Regions from separate parts of the Homo sapiens genome. Here all the other regions are linked to region 1. Evidence: promoter capture Hi-C in 16 types of primary human blood cells and fetal thymus (Javierre and others, 2016). All regions are on one chromosome and are shown on one strand. Each heading gives the region's core, a stretch centred on a gene start or on the middle of the fragment in contact. The rest is flanking DNA. Distances are from core to core; before and after follow the strand shown.

The links. Contacts are between HindIII fragments. The CHiCAGO score rates a contact against its expected background, and 5 or more counts as called.
Region 2: a fragment that was not itself captured here is called in contact with the fragment with the promoter of OBSCN-AS1 in region 1 in 13 of 17 cell types (naive CD4 T cells, non-activated CD4 T cells, total CD4 T cells and 10 more); the score reaches 9.7 in naive CD4 T cells.
Region 3: a contact is called between a fragment that was not itself captured here and the fragment with the promoter of OBSCN-AS1 in region 1, in 4 of 17 cell types (naive CD8 T cells, non-activated CD4 T cells, M0 macrophages and 1 more). The highest score is 7.1, in naive CD8 T cells.
Region 4: a contact is called between a fragment that was not itself captured here and the fragment with the promoter of OBSCN-AS1 in region 1, in 2 of 17 cell types (non-activated CD4 T cells and endothelial precursors). The highest score is 6.0, in non-activated CD4 T cells.

Annotation. Positions count from the first base shown.
Region 1 is chr1:228,212,192-228,215,189 of GRCh38, reverse strand. It overlaps OBSCN-AS1 (OBSCN antisense RNA 1), which reads left to right and starts at 1,535. Exons shown (of 2, transcript NR_073155.1): 1 at 1,535-1,768. OBSCN (obscurin, cytoskeletal calmodulin and titin-interacting RhoGEF) reads right to left here. Exons shown (of 116, transcript NM_001386125.1): 2 at 2,419-2,998; 3 at 1,480-1,749; 4 at 756-1,016; 5 at 92-400. RefSeq lists a silencer at 1,399-1,448. The HindIII fragment of the contact is 3,550 bases long and covers 260-2,998 here.
Region 2 is chr1:228,465,695-228,468,692 of GRCh38, reverse strand. No RefSeq gene overlaps it. Among named protein-coding and RNA genes, the nearest start is that of MIR4666A, 5.1 kb to the right of the region's middle. The HindIII fragment of the contact is 2,790 bases long and covers 1-2,772 here.
Region 3 is chr1:228,447,323-228,450,320 of GRCh38, reverse strand. It overlaps the pseudogene RPL23AP15. Among named protein-coding and RNA genes, the nearest start is that of H2AC25, 9.1 kb to the left of the region's middle. The HindIII fragment of the contact is 1,108 bases long and covers 910-2,017 here.
Region 4 is chr1:228,424,725-228,427,722 of GRCh38, reverse strand. H3-4 (H3.4 histone, cluster member) reads left to right here and starts at 2,363. Exons shown (of 1, transcript NM_003493.3): 1 at 2,363-2,878. The coding sequence starts at 2,398. The coding sequence ends at 2,808. The HindIII fragment of the contact is 1,058 bases long and covers 1,077-2,134 here.

The DNA of each region.
Region 1 (2,998 bases), core at 286-2,785:
GAGGCCACTCTGGCCTCCCCTGAAGCTGGACCTGGGGGATTCCGGGGCAGGTGAGCAGCCCCGTAGGTTGTAACAGGGAGGTCCCACTTACCCAGGTGGACAGTCCCCGGGAACTCGAGGTAGGGACTCTGACCAAAGCTGTTGAGAGCGGACACTCGGAACTGGAAGTTCCCCTCCTCCGCCACATCAGCCACGGTCAGCTCAGGTGTAGCCACCCATTCAGCCTCGTGGCACCTGATCCAGGTGTAGGTGCCAAGCTTCTTCTTCTCTACCAGGTAGCCGTCGATAGTGACAGGGCGTTCCCCATGGGGTGGTGGGGACCAGCTGAGAATCACGGAACTCTCCATCCTGGCCTTTACCACAGGATCCACAGGGGGTTGCAGGGGAGGCTTCCTGGGGGCTGTGTAGAGGGTGGGCAGAGGTCAACTACTGGGAGCCTCTTCCTGAGCCCTGGGTCTGGAATCACCTGGAGGGGTGTCACAGGATCCCCAGCTCTCTTGGGGCTGCTCTGGGGACCTGGACCACTGGCCACAACCTCCAGCCCCAGACCTGCAGCCACTTCTCTGGTTGCAGCTGAAAGACTGCGCGGGGGCTCAGGGAGCCTAACGTTGGAGGGCCAGGGCTATGGTCTTGCCCGGCGGCCCTCGGTACAGCAGGCTGAAGCCCAGAGAGCTGAGGTAATGGAGGGCAGGGGACTGGGACCAGGGAGACAGCAGGGAAGCGATGCCATCCTGGGAGCACCCTCAGGCCCTCACCCGACACGCAGAACTGGGTGGACGTCTGGCAGTCGCCAGCCATAAAGGCCACCTGGCCCACATCCTCCAGGCAGCACTGGGAGATGGTTAGTGTGTGGCGCGTGCCCTCCGCGGAGATGGCCACGCGGCCCCCCGCCACCACTTCCTCCTGGTTCCGCAGCCAGTGGACGGGGCCCACCGGGACCGCCAGCTCCACGCAAAACATAGCCGTGTCGCCCACGCGCACCGCCGTCTTCCGAGGGAGCTTTCGGAGGAGGTTTCCTGGGGTGGAGGGAGCCGGGCCAGTCAGACCAGCCCCTGCACGCCCCGCTCCAGACTCGCTCCTCCGCTTGCCCCCTGTCTCCCGGTTCCCAACTGCCTCCGATTCACTCCCCCGCGCAACCCCTTACCTGTCCCGCCGGCCCAAGTCCCAGCTCGGTCCCACAAGACCCCTGCCCACTCCGTCTCCCCTTCCCCCTAATCACCACCCCGTGCCCGGCCCGAGCTTGCTCCTCCGCCCCCACCTTACCTGCCCTTCCCGCCCCAGTCCCGCCCCTGCCTGCCCCAGTCCCAACTCGTACCTCGCAAGCCCAGTCCGTCTGCACCCTGCCCGCCCCCGTGCCCGCCCAGCCCGTGCGGCCTGGCTCCCCCCTCCCCCGCCCCCGGCTCCCTTCTCGGTGCCTCCTTGCCCCCGCTACCTCCCCGAAGCCGCCCTGTGCCCCGCCCCGTGCCCCGCCCCGCCTGCCTTGGACTGCGAGCTCCGCCACCGTGCGGCTGCCCTCTGGCGTCTCGCAGATGTACACCGCGTCGTCGTCGGCCGAGACATTGCGCACGGTCAGGCGGCGCTCGGTGCCCTCCTCCTCGATGCCGTACTTGGCGCTCGCCCACAACCGCGTCTCCTCCTTGAACCACGCGGCCTCAGTGGACGGCTGGGGCACCTCACATAGGAACGTGGCCGACTCCTTCTCCCGCACCTCCAGATCTTGCAGCCGCTTTTTGAAGGGAACCGCGGGCTCTGCCAGGAGAGAAGACTGGTGAGAGGGGCGGGGCCGGAGGGTGCAGGACGACGGCGGGGTGGGAAGGGGGAAATTGGGGGATTGTGGGCGGGAAAGGAGACTGGAGGATGCAGAGGTGAGGGTGTGGGAAGGAATAGGGGACAGGAGCAGAGGGGCTGGGAGGCTGGAAAGGAGAGGGTGCAGGGTAGAGGAGTGGGCTGGGGAGAGGAGCGAGCAGGAGGCAGAGGGGCTAAGGGTTGGGAAGGGCGCAGGGGAGGAGACAGGAAGTTGGGGGGCGGGGGAGTAGAAGAGCAGAAGGCAGAGTGGTGGAGGTTGGGTTGGGAGCAGCGGGAGGGAGAGGGCGGGGCTGAGGAGGTGGGATCCCCTGCGGCCCCGCCCCTCTCACACCTCTCGCCCCTGTCTGTGGGCCAGCGGTGGCGGGTTGGGGGCGCGGCATGCAAAGGGGGCGGGGCGGGCAGGGGACTGGGTGGGGAAAGCGGGTTGCGGGTGTTTAGAATAGGTCGTGGGGCGTCGCCCGCATTTTGCGCACCAGGAACGGACACCTGCAACCCTGGATTCCACGACCGGACAGACGCGGGTGGGAAACGGCAGACCGCAAGGGCGAAAGGACCCAGGTGCACGGGTTGCGGAGGAGCCTGGGCCCGCGCGCCCCGCACCCAGGAGCTCACCGCGCACTACGACCAGCACAGAGCTGTAGGTCTGGCCCACGAGGTTGGACGCCGTGCAGGTGTAGAGGCCGCGGTCCGACTGCTTGCAGAAGAGGATCTTGAGCACGAAGTTCTCCTGCGCGTCCTCGTACACCACGTGGCGCCGGCCCTCGGTCACCAGCTGGCCGTCCTTCTTCCACACCGTCTCGGGCTTGGGCTCGCCGGTCACGTAGCAGCTGAGGCGCGCGTGCTTGCCTTCAGTCACCGTGCAGGTGCGCGTGCCGGTGCTGGGCGGTGAGGCGGGGGCGCCCTCGGCGCGCATAGCCTCGCGCCGCCGCTGCAGGTGCGCCAGGAGCGCGGCCGTGGAGGTCCCGGGCCGGCTGGCCGTGTCCGCGGCGTCCGAGTCCACCACTAGCGCCGCGGCGGCGCTGGCAGCGCCCAGCGGGTTCTCGGCGCGGACCTCGTAAGTGCCGCCGTCGCGCGGCCGCGCCGCCCGAATGCGCAGCGCACTTGCCTCGCCGAGCTCCTCCACGCGCACGCGGGGGCCGTCGGGCTCACCCAGGCGCCGCCCGTCCTTGGACCAGCTCACTGCCGGCCTCGG
Region 2 (2,998 bases), core at 128-2,627, 250 kb before region 1:
GTCCGTCTGCCAATACATCATGTTGGTCTTGATCCGAGACACTGTCTCAATTGGCTCAGGCTGTTCTAACAAAATGCTACAGAAGGGGAGACTTAAACAACAGAAATTTATCAAAGTCTTTGGGGGAAAAGAGACCTGTGTGGGAAACATAGAAAAACCCTGTCTCTACAAAAAAAAAAAAAATTAGCCAGGCATGGTGGCACGTACCTATAGTCCCAGCTACTTGGGAGGCTGAGATAGGAGGATTGCTTGAACCCAGGAGTTTGAGGCTGCAGTGAGCTATGAATCACACCACTGCACTCTGGCCTGGGCAACAGAGCAAGACCCTGTCTCAAAAAAAAAACACACACACACACACACACACACACAAAAGACATTTAATACAAACTGCACATTACAGTTACATAACACATACATTTTGTGTCGTTATTTTCCCCCAAAGAGTGCTGATTATCCAAGGCTAGTAGTCTGAGATCAGGGTGTCAGCAGGGTTGGGTTTTGTGAGGTCATTCTTACTGGTTTGCACCTAGCCATCTTCTCCCTGTGTCCTCACATGGTGCTAGAAAGCGATATCCTAAAATGAAGACCTCTGAAGCAAAAAACTTTCTCTGATCTCCTGCCTTCCTGTCTCAGTCCCATTCTCCCCCAGACTGGCCATAGAAACTAGAATACCTCTTCCCCAAGGCAGGTCATAAAAACCGCAACCCCTTTTCCCCACAGCCAGACACAAATCCTAAAAATATTACTCTAACTCCTGCCTTTCTGTGCAAATGCTGACCATAAATTCTCTGGGCCACCTTGTCTGGTTGTACGTCATAAGACTCCCATTCCACAGAGGGTCCTGTCTCATACCCAAGAGGAAGGAATGCCACGCAGAGAGGCCAAGAAGAATCTAGACAGACAGGGCTTGCTGGATGTCCCCACTCAGTGTATTAGCAGTAGATCATGCCCAATCCTATTTCTACATAGCAGTCCATATTTTGTTGAACCTAAGCATTAAAATAGACAGCTTCTTCTGTATTCATTCTGAAGGCTTTTTTGTCACACTAAACTATGATCAAATAAATGTGTATGCCTTTTCTCTTTTAATCTGTCTTTTGTCAGCTGATTTTTAGTGAATCTTCAGAGGGCAATAGGAAAGTTTTTCCTTGGGCCCTGCAGCAGAGAGAAAGAGAAAAGCAAGCTGTCTTGTGTCTCTTCTTATAAGGGCATGAATCCTACCATGCCACTCCACCCTCATGACATAATCATCCCCCAAAGGCCCCACCTTCTAACACCATCACCCTGGGGATGGGGGTTTTCAACCTAGAAATTTGGAGGGAACGCAGACATTGAGTCCCTAGCAATCACCACCCATGAGAACCAGGACTGATTTCCTGACACCACCAAGCAGCCACCATATGGTGGGCAGAGCAAATCCTAAATCTTAGTACCTGAAAGACATATTCTTACCCAAAGTCCTTAGAATGCCCACCTCCTGTCCCACTCCAAGTTTTGTTTCAAACCTTTCCACACCAGTAGGAAGCCAGGAAGCCTTAGTAAGAACCTGGTGGGAAGACCAGCATCTCACTGGGCTGGCAGGACCAAGGCAAGCAGTGCTATATATGTACATATATTAACGTTTGTTAAACCATGGTGAGGAAGGCTTCATTCAGGACGGTGGAGTAGGATTAGGACCATTGCAGTGGGATTCTGCAGCAGGGTAGAGAGATTGGGCTCAATTCTGAGTACCGCACTGACAAGTGGAAATTTATAGACAGGAGTAGGGTAGATTAGTGGATAGAACAGTATTAAGAGGAGACATCAGGGCCAAGTACGGTGGCTCATGCCTGTAATCCTAACACTTTGGGAGGCTGAGGAGGGTGGATCACTTGAGGTCAGCAGTTTGAGACCAGCCTGGCCAATATGGCAAAACCCTGTCTCCACTAAAAATACAAAACTTAGCCTAGCATGGTCAGGCATGCCTGTAATCCCAGCTACTCAGGAGGCTGAGGCAGGAAAATCATTTGAACCCGGGAGGTGGACGTTGCAGTGAACTGAGATTGTGCTACTGGGCAACAGAGCAAGATTCCATCTCAAAAAGAAGAAGAAGAAGAAGAAGAAGAAGAAGAAGAAGAAGAAGAAGAAGAAGAAGAAGAAGAAGAAGAAGAAGAAGAAGAAGAAGAAGACATCAGGTGTGAGGGGGATTCTGGGTAAACGAACCTCACATGGCTCTTGCTGGAGGCAGGCAGGGTGATCAGATATCACCTGGGGATGGAGGATGAGGAACCCCATCAGATAGCACAGAGGGCGATCAGATATTCAGAATCAGGGGTTCTAGTTAAACTGACTTAGCGGGGCTCTTCCTAAAACTGGATTTCACAAGAAAGTGCACAGATGGACCCAGGAGGAGGTTCTGGAGCCTGACCAGAGTTTGGCCAAGCAGAGAATCTTTGTCAAAGGGCTGTTTGAGAACTAAATTGAATCAAGTATTTATTAAGTGGTTACCTAGCCAGCTCTTAGTGAGCACTCTAGAAATGCTTGGTAAATCAACCACATATTTCAAAAGGAAGCAGATAAAGTGCTTAATGCTGGGTATGCCCAAAGCCATTCAGGGAACCCACAGTCTCAAGATGCCCAGAAGACCTCAGAGGACAGACTTGAATGTAGAGGGTACTGCCTCAGCTCACAGGCTTATTCACAAGCAGATACTGACTGGGCCCCTGCTGGTGCCACACTCTGTGCTCTGGAGCCTCAGACATGAAAGCCACATCCTTCCCTGTGAGTTAAGCTTAGTCAGCATGCTAGTGGGAGAGAAAGGTTTGTGCTACATATTTACGTGATGGATCTGCCCGGGGCATAGAGCAGGCTCTGCTGAGGTAGCCCAAGCTGCTTATGGCTGGATCAGTCCTAAGAAGGAAAGGCGCTAACAGGAATTAAGCACAAAATAGATGCTGGGCACCCTGCCCGCTGCTTCACACTCATTAATGCTCAGCAACGCTATCAGGCGGGCACTGGC
Region 3 (2,998 bases), core at 214-2,713, 240 kb before region 1:
ATTCTCAAGGACACCTGCACAGTGGATCACTACAACCAGTGGGACCGTCCCTGAAGGTGTGCGGGGCAGCATGCTTGTGCATGATAGACTTGCCATCATCACATTTTTTTTTTCGAGACAGCGTCTCAATTTGTTGCCGAGACTGGAGTGCAGTGCAGTGGCAACAATCACAGCTCACTGCTGTCTCAACCTCAAGCAATCCTCCCACCTCAGCCTCCTGAGTAGCTGGGACTACAGGCAGGCTCCCCAAACCTGGGTAGTTTTTTGTATTTTGTAGAGACAGTGGTTTCACCATATTGCCCAGGCTGGTCTCCAACACCTGTGCTCATGCATTCCTCCCGCCTTGGCCTCCCAATTACAGGCATGAGCCATTGTGCCTGGCCCTATCATCACAGTTATAAAACTATCACATTTCCAGCCCCAGGAGCTTTACCCACACAGTCTCAAAGCCCTTGCTTCTTGGAAAACCCCCAGAGGCCTCACAGGGCCCTACAAAGAAAAGCCCCACGCTCTTTGTTGTTGAGAATGCTTTACTGGTCCCTTTTTATTTTTTCCCAGCTTTATTGAGGTACTGTTACCGGAAAGGGGTCTCGATCCAGACCCCAAGAGAGGGTTCTTGGATCTCATACAAGAAAGAATTCAGGGCAAATCCATAAAGTGAAAGCAAGTTTATTAAGAAAGTAAAGGAGCTTTTCACAAGATGGCACTGAAAGCGAAGAAGGAAACTCCTGCCCTTCCTAAAGCCGAAGCCAAAGCAAAGGCTTTGAAGGCCAAGAAGGCAGTGTTGAAAGGTGTCCATAGCCACACACAAAAAAAGAAGATCCGCATGTCACCCACCTTCTGGTGGCCCAAGACACTGTGACTCCGGAGGCAGCCCAAATATCCTGGGCAAATTGTCCCCAACAAGCTTGACCACTGTGCTATCATCAAGTTTCCACTAACCACTGAGTCTGCCATGAAGAAGATAGAAGACAGCAACACACTTGTGATCACTGTGGATGTTAAAGCCAAGAAGCACCAGATCAAACAGGCTGTGAAGAAGCTCTGTGACATTAATGTGGCCAAGGTCAACACCCTGATCAGCCTGATGGAGAGCATATGTTCAACTGGCTCCTGATTACAGTGCTTTGGATGTTACCAACAAAATTGGGATCATCTAAACTGAGTCCAGCTGGCTAATTCTAAATATATGCATATATTTTCACCATTAAAAAAAAAAGGAAGAAAGTGAAGGGATAAAAGAATGGCTACTCCATAGGCAGAGCAGCTCTGAGGGCTACTGGTTGGCCACTTTTATGGTCATTTCTTGATTATATGCTAAACAAGGGGTGAATTATTCATGCGTTTCCCAGGAAAGGGGTGAGCAATTCTTGGACCTGAGGGTTCCTTCCCTTTATAGACCATATAGGGTAACTTCCTGATGTTTCCATGGCATTTGTAAATTGTCATGATGCTGTTGGGAGTATCTTTTACTTATAATTAATGATAATTAATGTATTATAATGAGCAGTGAGGACGACCAGAGGTCACATTAGTCGCCATCTTGGTTTTGGTGGGATTTGGCTGCCTTCTTTACCGCGTGCTGTTTCATTAGCAAGGTCTTTGTGACCTATATCTTGTGCCGACCTCCTATCTCATCCTGTAACTTAGAATGCCTAACCTCCTGGGAATGCAGTCCAGCAGGTCTCAGCCTTATTTTACCCAGCCCCTATTCAAGATGGAGTTGCTCTAACTCAAATGCCTCTGACAGTATGATCTACAAATAAAGCTCGTACATATTCAAGGTGCACAGCATGATGTCTTGGTACATGTCACGTGGTGAAATGATTACCACAGTCAAATCAATTAACACACACATCACCTCATGTGGTTACCTGTGTGTGTGTGCATGTGTCTGTGTGTGCGGTGACAACATGTAAGATCTACTCAGTAAATTTTATGTCCATGATATGTTATTAACCAGAGTCTCCATGCTGTGCTTCAGGTCTCCAGAACTACTTATCTTATAGCTGAAGCTTTGTACTCCTCCTCACCCAGCCCCTGACTTTTTTAGATTCCATATATAAGTTGGCTCATGCAGTATTATTTGTCTTTCTGTGCCTGGCTTATTTCACTTAGCATAATGTCCTCTGGGTTCATCCATGTTGTTGACATGGTTTCCTTCTTTTTTAGACCTGAATAATTTTCATTATTATAGTGTAGTATAGCATGTAACACTAATATCTATACCACGTTTTCTTTATTCATTCACTGATGGACATTTAGGTTGTTTCTGTATCTCAGCTATTATGAATAGTGCTGTAATTAACATGGGAGTGCAAGTATCTCTTTATGACAGTGATTTTATTTCCATTGGGCATACTCAGAAGTGAGATGGCTGGATCAACAAAATTAAAAGGCAACCTATGGATGGGTGAAAACATTTGCAAACCAAACATCTGGTAAGGGGTTAATACCCAAAATATATAAGAGCTCCTACAACTTATTAGCAAAAAACAAAACCAAAACAAGAACCAAATAACCTAACTTTAAAAATAGACAAAGGACCTAAATAGGCATTTCTCCCAAGAAGGCATACATATGGCCAACAGGCATATGAATAGGTGTTCAACATTACTAATCTAGGAGGGTCGGTAGGGTGGCTCATGCCTCTAATCCCAGAGCCTAAGGTGGGAGGATTGCTAGAGCCCAGGCTTTGGAGACCAGCCTGGGCAACATAGGAAGACTCCGTCTGTACAAAAAATTTTTAAAAATCAGCGGGGCGTGGTCGTTCCTGAGGTCCCATCTAGTCCAGAGGCTGAGGCGGGAGTATCCCTCGAGCCCGGGAAGTCTAGGTTGCAGTGAGCCGAGATTGCACCACTGCACTCCAGCCTGGGCCACAGAGGGAGACCCTGTCGCAAAAAATAAATAAATAAATAAAATTCAGGAAAATGCAAATCAGAATCAGAATGAAATGTCTCCGAACACCTGTTAGAATGGCTAATATCAAAAAGACAAG
Region 4 (2,998 bases), core at 356-2,855, 210 kb before region 1:
GGAAGATAAGGGTTAGTTTAATAAAGTTTGTTTGTATAGATTTCTCTTGGCTTCTATCTTGGTCTGTTTCATGTTGTTAAAGGAATACCTGAGGCTGGATGATTTATTAAAAAAAAAAAAGGTTTATTTGGCTTATGGTTTCGCAGGCTGTACAAGAAGCACAGTGGCTGGGCGCAGTGGCTCACGCCTGTAATCCCAGCTACTCAGGAGGCTGAGGCAGGAGAGTCGCTTGAACTTCCCGGGAGGCGGATGTTGCAGTGGGCTGAGATCACATCACTGCACTCCAGCCTGGGCAACAGAGTGAGACTCAGGTCAAAAAATTAAAAAAAAAAAAGCATAGTGGCCGGGCACGGTGTAATCCTAGCACTTTGGGAGGCCAAGGTCGGGGGATCAGTTGAACTCAGGAATTCAAGACCAGCTTGGGCAACATAATGACAGCCCATCTCTACAAAAAAATTAAAAATTTAAAAATTAGCTGGATGTGGTCCCAGCTACTTGGGAGGCTGAGGTAAGAGGGGCCTGGGCAACAGAGCAAGATGAAAAAAGGAGGGAAAGGAGGGGAGGGGAAGGGAGAAGAAAAAAAGGAAGGGAGGGAGGGAGTGAGGAAGGGAGGGAAGGAGAAAGGAAGGGAGGGAAGGAGAAAGGAAGGGAGGGAAGGAGAAAGGAAGGGAGGGAAGGAGAAAGGAAGGGAGGGAGTGAGGAAGGGAGGGAAGGAGAAAGGAAGGGAGGGAGGGAGAAAGGAAGGAAGCAAGCATAGGGCCCACCTCTGCTTCTGGTGAGGGCCTCTGGCTGCTTCTGCTCATGGTGGAAGGTGAAGGGGAACCCATGTATGTGCAGAGGTCACAGGGCTGCCGCGAGAGAGGACGCCAGAGAGAGAGGGGAGAGGGGTGCCAGGCTCTTTTCAACACCAGCTCTTCAGGGAACCAACAGAGTGAAAACTCACCCTAAAGGAGGGCAGGACTCTATTCAGAGGGTGACACCCCAGGACCCACACACCTCCCACTGGCCCCCCCCTCCCTGGGCTCCAACTTTAGGGATCAAATTTCAACTTGAGAGTTGGAGGAGATTTGGAAGCTTCCACCTCCCGTCCTTGATGATAAGAACGTTCCCTTGCTTTTACTATAAGGAGAACATCTTTCATATGGGAATTTCATCTCTTGTATTTAAGAAACAACAAGAAATTCAGAATGATCTTCCTACACCTGCTTCTTCTTTTTTTTTTTTAAGTGCCTTTATCTCAAAATAGACAATATGCCAGAAAGGCACATCTTTACCTTCTTCAGAATCCTAAGGCTCATCTAAGCCGTACAGGTAAGGGAGTTCTTTGCAGGTCATAAAAAGTGGGAGATTCCTTTAACTCTGGCTGCATCCCAGAGCTTTGTCACTGTGTAAAAGTGGAATGCCGGCCGGGCACGCTGGCTCACGCCTGTAATCCCAACACTTTGGGAGGCCGAGGCGGGCGGATCACGAGGTCAGGAGATCGAGACCATCCTGGCTAACATGGTGAAACCCCGTCTCTACTAAAAATACAAAACAAAATTAGCCAGGCATGATGGCGGGCACCTGTAGTCCCAGCTACTCTGTAGGCTGAGGCAGGAGAATGGCGTGAACCCGGGAGGCGGAGCTTGCAGTGAGCTGGGATTGCGCCACTGCACTCCAGCCTGGGCGACAGAGAGAGACTCCGTCTCAAAAAAAAAAAAAAAAAAGTGAAATGCCAGCTGGGCCTGGTGGCTCATGCCTGTAATCCCAGCACTTTGGGAGGCCGAGGCGGGTGGATCACCTGAGGTCAGGAGTTCGAGACCAGCCTGGCCAATATGGTGAAACCCCATCTCTATTAAAAACACAAAAAATTAGCCAGGCATGGTGGCGGACACCTGTAATCCCTGTAATTCCAGTTACTCGGGAGGCTGAGGCAGGAGAATCGCTTGAACCTGGGAGGTGGAGGTTGCAGTAAGCAGAGATCACGCTATTGCACTCCAGCCTGGGCAACAAGAGTGAAACTCCATCTCAAAAAATAAAAAAATAAATTAATTTTTTAAAAAAGTGGAATGCCATGTGCTGGCTTCTGGAAGGCTCTTGCCACCCAAGTCATGGGGAAGGGAGAAGAGGAGCGCTGAGAAGACATGAGGAAGCTTGTGCTGGAGAGAGATGATCCCCACCACCGCGGCCTACCCGCATCAACCCTTCACAATGCTGGTGCCAGCTCTGGTGGCCACGACCAACAGGCATGAATATAAGGGAGAGGCGCCCGAGTGGAGTTCCCTGTGGGCCAATCAGAGAGCAGTGGGCCATCACGCCACCTGAGGCCAGCCAATGGGAACGCGGCAAGCTCTATAAAAGCGAGCAATCCGCTGAGGTCTGGGCAGAGGACACCGCGGGGCCAACAGTTTCGGATTCATGGCCCGAACCAAGCAGACTGCGCGCAAGTCAACGGGTGGCAAGGCGCCGCGCAAGCAGCTGGCCACCAAGGTGGCTCGCAAGAGCGCACCTGCCACTGGCGGCGTGAAGAAGCCGCACCGCTACCGGCCCGGCACGGTGGCGCTTCGCGAGATCCGCCGCTACCAGAAGTCCACTGAGCTGCTAATCCGCAAGTTGCCCTTCCAGCGGCTGATGCGCGAGATCGCTCAGGACTTTAAGACCGACCTGCGCTTCCAGAGCTCGGCCGTGATGGCGCTGCAGGAGGCGTGCGAGTCTTACCTGGTGGGGCTGTTTGAGGACACCAACCTGTGTGTCATCCATGCCAAACGGGTCACCATCATGCCTAAGGACATCCAGCTGGCACGCCGTATCCGCGGGGAGCGGGCCTAGGAGGGCTATCTCGCCACCTGAGAGGTTGCGCAACGTTCACCCCAAAGGCTCTTTTAAGAGCCACCCACCTGGTCGAAGAGTTGCTGTAGCAAGCTAGTCTCTTGGGTTTCGGGGGGTTCCTTCCGCTGGCCTGTGCTGGCTTACCTACTTCTGATTAGGGTGGGAGGCTGGTGAATCCTGTGTTCACCCT